2 separate regions of the Homo sapiens genome follow, and region 1 is linked to region 2. The links are contacts of gene promoters, found by promoter capture Hi-C in blood cells and fetal thymus (Javierre and others, 2016). All regions are on one chromosome and are shown on one strand. The core of a region is centred on a gene start or on the middle of the fragment in contact, and the rest is flanking DNA. Distances in the headings are between cores, read along the strand shown.

Region 1 (4,793 bases), core at 2,294-4,793, 720 kb before region 2:
GATTCTGTGTAAAGAATGTCAGGGGTATGCATAATTACTACAACTGGGTTGGAGTAAGCAAAGGAGGGTTTTTTTCCTTCAAGACAAGTCTTTATTGCACTTTAGGAACTTCAGCAAAGCTATGGAATCTCTGTATTGTTCAAACCAGAGACCAATGAGTAGGAGAACTGAAGATATTTAACACTGCTATCTGTCTGCAATGTAAATATGTATTAGCATATAATCCTAGAGCATCACTTTCCTGCTACCCAGTAAAGCTGAATTTATTCTAAGTACACCAAGTATATACCTCCCTAGAAAATAATTATCAAGCAAGCAGGAACTTTGCTTTATTCACAGCAGTATCCCTAGGACCAGAACAACGCTTGTCATATAGAAGACCTTCAGAAAATACTTGTTGAATGGATGAATCCCAGGTTTTTTAGGATAGTAGCAGCTTAACATAATTTTAAACAATACATTTAAAGTAATTTGTTACACCCCACTAACTTTCCACTTGAATAAATTCATAAAGAAAAAAAAAACCCTTTTATCAGCCTTCACATTCTCAAAATGTGAGCAGTAAAATTATAAAAACTCATGGAGGCAGGGGTTACTCACTGGATTTGTACTAAAACTCATTCACAGCTGGCTTCACTTGTAAGTGATCCACTATCTGTCTTTCTGTCAGTTTCCATACTCACATTACTTCAGCTCTTCTATCAATGACAACAGCCACCTAATCTCTGACTTTGGATCCATCCTAAGCATGTCTACCAATCTAATCTTTCTCATGTTTTATTTGATTACATCATTCCTGCTCCATGTTTTCCCCCAAAGGCTCCCTACTGCCTAATAGTAGACATTAATGATCGTTTTCATGGTGAAGCGTTTACCTTCCCTCTCATTATTATCACATTTAATCCTATAGCCTATAAAGCAGGTATAGTTTTCATCCTGTTTTACAGATGCTGTATATTGAAGCTCAAAAAGGCAAGGTATGTAACTTGAAAATGGAGATCTGAACTTAGGTTGTCTAACTCCAGAGCTGGAGCACTCAACTCTTATCCCAGTTCCTAGCTGGCATGAGCAGCTCTATGAGATATGACTCAGCCTGCTTCTTCACCTCGCCAACTGGTCCTTCATCTTCAGGATGGTAAATATGTTTTATTTCATATGCCCATCCCAATCACTTTGCTGTGGTTACCTAAACTACCAAGAGGTTTGAAATCAAGAGGAGGCTTAGCATGAAGGAGCGCTATGGAGTTACAGCAGTATCTGTCAGAAGAACATACCATGGGTTAGCTATCTCTGCCTTTCCCATATACTGGGCTTTGACCACATATATTTCCCTCTCCCCTTGATGACACATTCCCACCTGTAATGATTATCTCCATTTGTCATCTTGAGCCCCCTTCAAGTGTCATCTCTAATACTAATTATGTTGTGAGGTCTTTTCCTAACCCCTCACTTCCTAATCCTCTAGTTCTCCCAACCTTAGAGTCTACTTTTTTCTCTTGTTTGTCTCATTTTGCTCTGCTCCCCGTTAAAACCTCCCCTGGGCTAGTGCCCTACTCATAAATCTCCACCTTCAGACATACTAAGCAAAATATCTTGAACTTAACAGACGTTTGATAAATATCTGATGAATTAAATAGGATCACATACCACAGACTCTAAGGACATTATGTCAAGACTACAGACATTTTATATGTAAAGCCATTTCAAAAACAAAAAATTCAAGTTCTGCTTTAAAAAACAACATGACATAATATATAGAAGAATGCTACTCACTAGGTAACCGTGTTCATTTCAAATGCTTTATAGCAAAGCAGGCTTCCCTAACATCACACAAAACTTTTAAAGAAAGAAGACTTGCTTCTTAGCAAACATCACTCTCAGCTGTCCACAGCTTCACTCCACTGAGACATACAGAGACACATCTCCCTTATTTATCAAAATAAGCCATTTAAAAAGTATTCTTACCATGGTCAACATGAGCCAAAACACAAATATTCCTGATGTTGGCAGTGTTTTTCTGGAGTTGAATCATCTTATCCAAACTGTTGAGCACCATGATTACTTATTTCCTGTGACTAAAAATTAAATATGTATTACAAATGGCCCAGAGGCTAAAGGTCGGGGCAAAAGAAAAAAATAATAATAAACGCTGGGAGGTGGCAAGCTTCTCAAACCCCTTAAACCAAGAACCCAGTGAATGTTTATTGATGAGATAGACCACCAAGGCCTAAGTCCAGTTCGAGCACTAAAGTCAGTATCCTACCACGATTACACTTAAGGAGTTTGCTCATCCTTCCGGATCCAAAGGCTGCGATGAATCACGCAGCTCGAGGGGACTGGGTGCACAGTGACACCAGTAACCCTGCCGGTGGAGGAGTACTCCAGTAAACATCTCCAGGCCAATGACCACGTACAGGAAGGGTTGCATCCAGGAGGGAGAGAAAATGCTGAAGAAGATGCTCCCTTTCTCTCTTCAGTCTTCCCCCAAGTCCCTCATTCTGACATTCTCGCTCGTCCTCGCGCGAGGTCAAATACCCAGCTTTATTCCTGCCCATGGAGCCCGAACAAAGTTTTGGGTCACGTGCTTATTATCCAAGCAGGTGCACTGCCGGTCTTTCATTCCTTTCTAAATAAAAAGGAAAAACCTCTACACTACATGCCCTTCATTTCTGCAGGGTCCCAGATTCGTTCTCTTTGAGGATCCTGGGTCCACACAGACAGGCGACCGCCCCGGCCCCAGACGGGAAGCGGCACTCCGGGGACCGAAGCTCCCAGCCCGCGCTCGGCCCCAGCCCCTGTTCCCGCCTCAGAGCCGCAGCGAGCGGGTTCCTCCGGCACCGCCCAAAGGCTGGCCTAGGAGGTTCCAGCCCCCAGCGCCAGCCCACACTCACCGGCTGCAGCAGCCCCACCAGCCCCGCTCCTTCTCTCGGGTCGCACCCACACCGAGAGCTTCCGAAAGTCCGAGAGCTCTGCGGGTCCGACACGCCCGCGCGCCAGGGGGCGGGGCCGGCTGTCGCTCGACCTTTCACCCGCACGTCTCTGACGCCGCCGGAAGCCGGCGCCGAGTCTGTCACCGGGCATCCCTCTGTTGCCTTGACTACGGCGGGCGCTGTGGGAGTGGAGAAGCTGCAAGTGCTGAGGCGCGGTGGAGGAAAGCATGGGAGCCAAGAGTATGAGGAGCTGGTGTCTGTGTCAGATTTGTAGCTGCGGGTAAGAAACGGCTGGTGTAGCGGCGGGCCCGGGCTTGGGAGCCGACCTAGGGCCTAGGTGCACGGAGCCGGCTCCTCGGGAACCCTGAGAGTGGCCGTCCCCCGGAGATGAAGGGACGAGGGCGCAGCGACATCCCCACTTATCCCGCTCCGCGAATACTCGCTCCTCACCCGCCTGCTACCCGGGGGTAAAACGTTTGTTCGTAGCCCCTGAGACTCCCAATCAAGGATGCAAAGTAAAATGCCACCCGGGCCAGGTAAGTAATATATGTGAAGCCGCGACGGGATATAACGCTGGTGAGTAGTGGGATGTGATCCGACTGGGAGAGTGCATTTCCACCCCATAATCCCCCACCACGAAGATGAGAAAGAACAGTGCTCAAGGCCCTGAGTCTGCAACCCATATCACATTTTCTTTCATCTGTAGCTTTCTGTCCTCCCAGCCAGACCATATTCCCATTCCCGTCCAGGCAGCAGTTCTTTGGGATCCGCCTGACTGAAAAGTCAGTAAGTAGTCCCTACCCTGAAATCTAGAATCCAACTGTGAGTCCTGCCTAACAACCTTCCATCACCTGTAAACACAGTCCTCTCCTTCCTCAGCTTCACTATTGACCCAGGGATTAGATCATTATTTGCTAAGTAAATATGAACGTTGTCAATCCCTGGTGTATTTGTAATCCCATTCAAAGAAAACACCTACATGTTGATGGAAAGCAGTTTTTTTAATAGTCTCATAATAAACACAGTTCATAATTATATATAGATTAAAATATCAACAAATTAACTTTGGGTGTATGAATCCTCAGACTGGTGTGCAGGAGAAAATTTTTACTTTTCTCCTAATTTATATTCAACGCAAGTTCCTTTCTCATTCAACTGTAAGGAAATTCAGTCTTCATTATGTTGAGGGCCACCATTGGAATGGCGTGATTTTACTTCTTGTTTGTTTGTTTTGGGCTGTGGTTGTTAGTTTTGTCTTTTTAAGGGTTTATTTTTATTTTTTGACAATGCAATAAATACACAAGAAGTATCATAAAAATCTAAGCAAAAATATCTATAATATTGTAAAACGCCTTCATAATTCTATCTTCCACAGATAACAAATGTTCTTTAAGACTTGTTTTACATATGCATTGATTTTTTTTTTTTTTTTTTTTTGAGACAGAGTCTGGCTCTCTTGCCAGGCTGGAGTGCAGTGGCGCAATCTCGGCTCACTGCAATCTCCGCCTCCCGGGTTCAAGCAATTCTCCTGCCTCAGCCTCTCTGAGTAGCTGGGATTACAGGCTCGTGCGACCACACCCAGCTAATTTTTGTATTTTTAGTAGAGACGGGGTTTCACCATGTTGGCCTCCATCTCCTGACCTCATGATCTGCCTGCCTCGGCTTCCCAAAGTGCTGGGATTACAGGCGTGAGCCACTGCGCCTGGCCTGCATTGATTTTTTTTTTTTTTTAACAAAAAAAGAGAATATTCTGAGCATACTATTCTACAATCCGGTTTTTTACTATTTACAATCTCACCAACTTCCAATGATCATGCATAAAGACCACCCTCATTCTCTTAAATAACTGTATACTATTAGCTT
Region 2 (4,770 bases), core at 931-3,430:
TTATTATTTTTTTTTTTTTTTGAGACGGAGTCTTGCTCTGTCACCCAGGCTGGAGTGCAGTGGCGCAATCTCTGCTCACTGCAAGCTCCGCCTCCTGGGTTCACGCCATTCTCCTGCCTCAGCCTCCCGAGTAGCTAGGACTACAGGCGCCGGCCACCACGCCCAGCTAATTTTATGTATACTTAGTAGAGACAGGGTTTCACCGTGTTAGCCAGGATGGTCTTGATCTCCTGACCTCATGATCCACCCGCCTCGACCTCCCAAAGTGCTGGGATTACAGGCGTGAGCCACCGCACCCGGCCTTTTATTCAATTATTGTAACCTTGGTTGTTACACCTCTTACCTTTACTACCCAACACCAAGACTATCCTATTCCCTCATCCATACTATCCTATATACTTTTGCTAGGTTAATGTTTCTAAAACATTACTTGGAATATTCATAGTTCTATCATTCATTCCACAAACATTTATTCAGTGCTAACGTCATGGAAAAAGCACAATGTGGGGCTGGGCTCCACGGCTCAGGCCTGTAATCCCAGCCCTTTGGGAGGCTGAGGTGGGTGGACTGCTTGAGCCCAGAGTTCGAGACCAGACTGGGCAATACTGCAAAATTCCATCTCTACAAAAAATACAAAAAATTAGCAGGGTGGTGGTGTGCACCTGTAGTCCCAGCTCTCCGGAGGCTGAGCTGAGAGGATCGCCTGAGCCCAGGAAGTCGAGGCTGCAGTATGCCATGACCACGTCACTGCACTCCAGCCTGGGCAACAGAATGAGACCCTGTGTCAAAGAAACAAACAAACAAACAAACAAAAAAAGCACAATGTTATACACTCCAGAATGTAGAAATGCATTAGATAAAGGCCTGTTTACAGTTTAATAGGGGGAAAGACTTGCAAGTAAATAATTTTAGTTCGAAGTTAGAAAGTGGTAATAACTAAATACATGAAATTCCAGAAATATGATGGACTCTCAATAGAAAGAAAAATTATTTCTAGGTAGAGATGTCACTTTCTAAAGCTTTAAATAATGGAAAGAATTTCAACATTTGGAGATGAGGGGGAGAGACAGGTATTTCATGCAAGGGACATGAGCAATCTATAAAAATGTAATAATTTATGCATGACGTACTTCACAGGGTCTGGTTTACCACTGACTGAGGGAGAATGGAAGGGGAACAGCAGAAAATAAAAAAAGTTTTGAATCCAAGTTAATAAACTTGACCTTTAATCTACAGGCAACAGAGAGCCATTGGATCAGCTATTTTGGATCACGGTGGTGCTTGAAGATGGCTACACCTATAGCAGGTATATGTAAGATAGGCTAGTAGCAGAGTGATGCTAGAGGCAGGACATCAATGAGAAAGGTACTGCACTGACACCGTGCAGGGGATGGTAATGAGAACGTTGATTAGGTGGGGGCAGTGGGTAAGAAGATGCAAGAATTACTGTAGGGGTACAATCGACAGGACTTGGCAAGTGATTGGAGCATGGAAAGGCAAGAAAGGGCATCAAATCTGACATCAAAGTTTCCAAGTTGGTTGTATTAACAAAAACGGGTGCATAGCCTGGGAAGTAATTTGGGAGGGAAGAGGCCAAGCTTTGTCGGGATATTAAGTGTTTATACATTTGCTGAACATCCCACAAGACATGGGCAAGACTCTTGGAAGTAGCTGGATACTGACGACTGAAGCTGGAGCAGAGAGGGGGTATGTTTCTGCAAAACCACATACAAAACGGACTACGGAAATCTTACTACCGAGGCTTGCCCAGGCAGGAGAGAAAGGTGTAGCATCCCTGAAGTCATCAGTCGTGTCTACTCTTCACCGCCTGCTCTCACCTCACGTTCCCCACGAAGACTCCGGGAGCAGGCGGCCGGAAGGAGCCCTTCCCTCCCTTCTCCGGTGATTCCCAGAACTTCCGTCTCTACCCGTCACCTGCTCCCAATCAAAGGAGCTTAATAGACGGCGACGTTTTCGACTGCCCAGCCACCAGGCAGGCTGAAAGTGCATGGAGGGCATCATCCACCTTTAGACAGCTACTTGCCCACACCTCATCGAGCTCTGGGCGTTGTGCCAGCATTTGAAGAAGCGATCTGTTGCAAAGCGATCCACACGGAGAGCCTTAGTTATCGCGAGACTTGACAGGCACCCTCAACTTTAGCCCGCCGGAAGCGGAAGTCAGGTGGTTGTCGGATTTTAGAGGAAGGCGCTCGGTTACATTGGAGAACTGGAGTGGTCTGGAGTTCCACGGTGTAGTGGACCAGAGGCCACCTCTCCTGGGCTTCTCAGTGTCTCGCCGGCGGGGTTCGGCCTGAGCTGGATTGACATAGCCCTTGGCGGGTGAGTCGCCCCGGACGCCCGGGAGGAGGGAGCGGGGCGGCCGAGCTGGGTGGCCAGCGAGGTGTCCTCCCCCTGTGCGGTGATCTGTACTCTTTGCTAGACCGAAGCCCGTTTACTTCTCACGGCCCATAATTTCCCTCACTTCTGGAGGTATAAGGTGCTTCGGAAGGGAGCAAATCTGCCAGAACCTTGGTAAGCAAGCTGTGATGTGCCTTGAGGACGGACTGGAAAACGCAGTTGTTTTCAGTCTGCATCTTCGTCTGTTCCCCGGGCTCACCTCCCAGGGCAGCGAAACCCCATTCTGGTTGGTTATTTCCAGGGTTAGTCGCCCGCAGCCAAAGTTCTTTGTGGTTTTATTTGTGGTGAATAAATTAGCAGTATTCAAGTACAAATCTGAAAGGCTTACCCTAAAAGAACATACATACTTTATGAAGTTTGTATTCATACTTGAACTATTTTGCTTTTGAAGGCCCAGAGGACAAATCTTGTAGCTTCTTGCTCTTGAGAACCAGTTCCCTCTTTGGAATATTAGCTTTGGAAGTCTTTAGAGCGTTTTTTTGGTTTGTTTTTTGTTTTTTTTTTGAGACGGAGTCTCGCTCTGTCGCCCAGGCTGGAGTGCAGTGGCGCGATCTCCGCCTCCCAAGTTCAAGCGATTCTCCTGCCTCAGCCTCCCGAGTAGCTGGGACTACAGGCACATGCCACCACGCCTGGCTAATTTTTTCTATTTTTAGGAGAGACGAGGTTTCACCGTGTTAGCCAGGCTGGTCTCGATCTCTTGACTTCGTGATCTGCCCGCCTCGGCCTCCCAAAGTGTTGGGATTACAGAGGTGAGCCACCGCGCCTGGCCTTAGAGCACTTTTACTCCAATTCTTTCCTTGAATAAGACTCTTATGCGCCACCCTCCCCTACAAACACCTTTTGAGAGTTTCCTTAAATAAAGTCAAGTTTGTTTTTTTCCTCCCACAGATTTAAACAACCTAAACATTAAGCAGTACAGCTGCCTCAAACCTTTGGGGTAAGTAAAGCTTGGGTCGATTAACATTCTATTTAAATTTCGTTCTCAGTAATAATACAGTTGATATTTGTTTACATGAGTATGGGTGGGGAGTCGTGGGAGAACATATGAGAACATAAAAATGGAGTAGCACCTTTTCCTTGCCTTATGATTTTTACTGCCCATCTGGATTAGGTATGGGTCATCTTTTTAGTGATTTCTGTGATCCCACTAGAATTCTAGACATGATTTTTAATTAGCTGAATTTATTTAAAACTCATTCCTTGGATTTGAGAATTTGATATAGTTTGCCAATCCCAGACACATTGAAAGTCTGATATTTGGTATTTGATAAAGCATACTAAGAGCAATAGCCTGAAAGATAAGAGTGTCAGGCTGGGCGCGGTGGCTTATGCCTGTTATCCCAGTACTTTGGGAGGCTGAGGCAGGCAGATCACCTGAGGTCAGGAGTTCAAGATCAGCCTGGCCAACATGATGAAACCCTGTCTCTACTAAAAATACAAAAATTAGCGAGCGGGCGTGCACCTGTAATCCCAGCTATTCGGGAGGCAGAGACAGGAGAATCACTTGAATTCGAGAGGCAGAGATTGCAGTGAGCCGAGATCGCGCCATTGCACTCTAGCCTGGGCAACAAGAGTGAAACTCCGTCTCAAAAAAAAAAAAAAAAAAAGGCTGGGCGCAGTGGCTCATACCTGTAATCCCAGGACTTTGGGAGGCCAAAGCGGGCGGATTATGAGGTCAGGAGTTCAAGACCCGCCTGGCCAACAAAACCCCATCTCTACTAAAAATGCAAAAATTAGCTGGGTGTGGTGGCGCGTGCCTGTAATCCCAGCTACTTGGGAGGCTGAGGCAGGAGAATTGCTTGAACCTGGGAGGCAGAGGTTGCAGTGTGCTGAGATCGCGCCATTGCACTCCAACTCTGGGTGACAGAGCAAGACTCCGTCTGGGGGAAAAGGAAAAAGAAAAAATCTACATATTGTTTCTTGCAATGCAACAATAATTTCCGTTTAATTTTGTTGGGGTTAAAGTAGGTAGTATAAATGTTACAAATATTTGCATATGTTTGGAGGAAAGGCAGACTAATGAAGAAGTTATCACAATAGCTTCCATTGTCACATCTTTTTGTCCCAAACCTTTTATTGGAAGTTAATAAAGTAAGAAAAATAATTCGGGCCAGGCACAGTGGCTCATGCCTGTAATCCCAGCACTTTGGGAAGCCAAGGCAGGAGGATCACCGAAGCCCAAGACTTCCAGCCTAGGCAACATGGCGAGATCCCGTCTCTTCAAAAAATACGAAAATTAGCCGGGTGTGGGTGGCATGCACCTGTAGTTCCAGCAACTTGGGAGGCTGAGGTGGGAGGATTGTTTGAGCCAGGGAAGTCAAGGCTGCAGTGACCCGAGGTTGTGCCGCTGTG

What was found. Contacts are between HindIII fragments. The CHiCAGO score rates a contact against its expected background, and 5 or more counts as called.
Region 1: a fragment that was not itself captured here is called in contact with the fragment with the promoter of RAMAC in region 2 in 2 of 17 cell types (naive CD8 T cells and total CD8 T cells); the score reaches 6.8 in naive CD8 T cells.

What each region holds. Positions count from the first base shown.
Region 1 is chr15:82,259,723-82,264,515 of GRCh38, forward strand. EFL1 (elongation factor like GTPase 1) reads right to left here and starts at 3,012. Exons shown (of 20, transcript NM_024580.6): 1 at 2,892-3,012; 2 at 1,966-2,075. The coding sequence starts at 2,056. It overlaps SAXO2 (stabilizer of axonemal microtubules 2), which reads left to right and starts at 3,096. Exons shown (of 4, transcript NM_001348699.2): 1 at 3,096-3,210. The coding sequence starts at 3,158. RefSeq lists a silencer at 942-1,128 and enhancers at 3,137-3,226, 3,247-3,316. The HindIII fragment of the contact is 2,763 bases long and covers 2,163-4,793 here.
Region 2 is chr15:82,984,030-82,988,799 of GRCh38, forward strand. RAMAC (RNA guanine-7 methyltransferase activating subunit) reads left to right here and starts at 2,181. Exons shown (of 4, transcript NM_031452.4): 1 at 2,181-2,340; 2 at 3,307-3,355. It also overlaps a transcript of HOMER2 not described here. The HindIII fragment of the contact is 1,767 bases long and covers 1,597-3,363 here.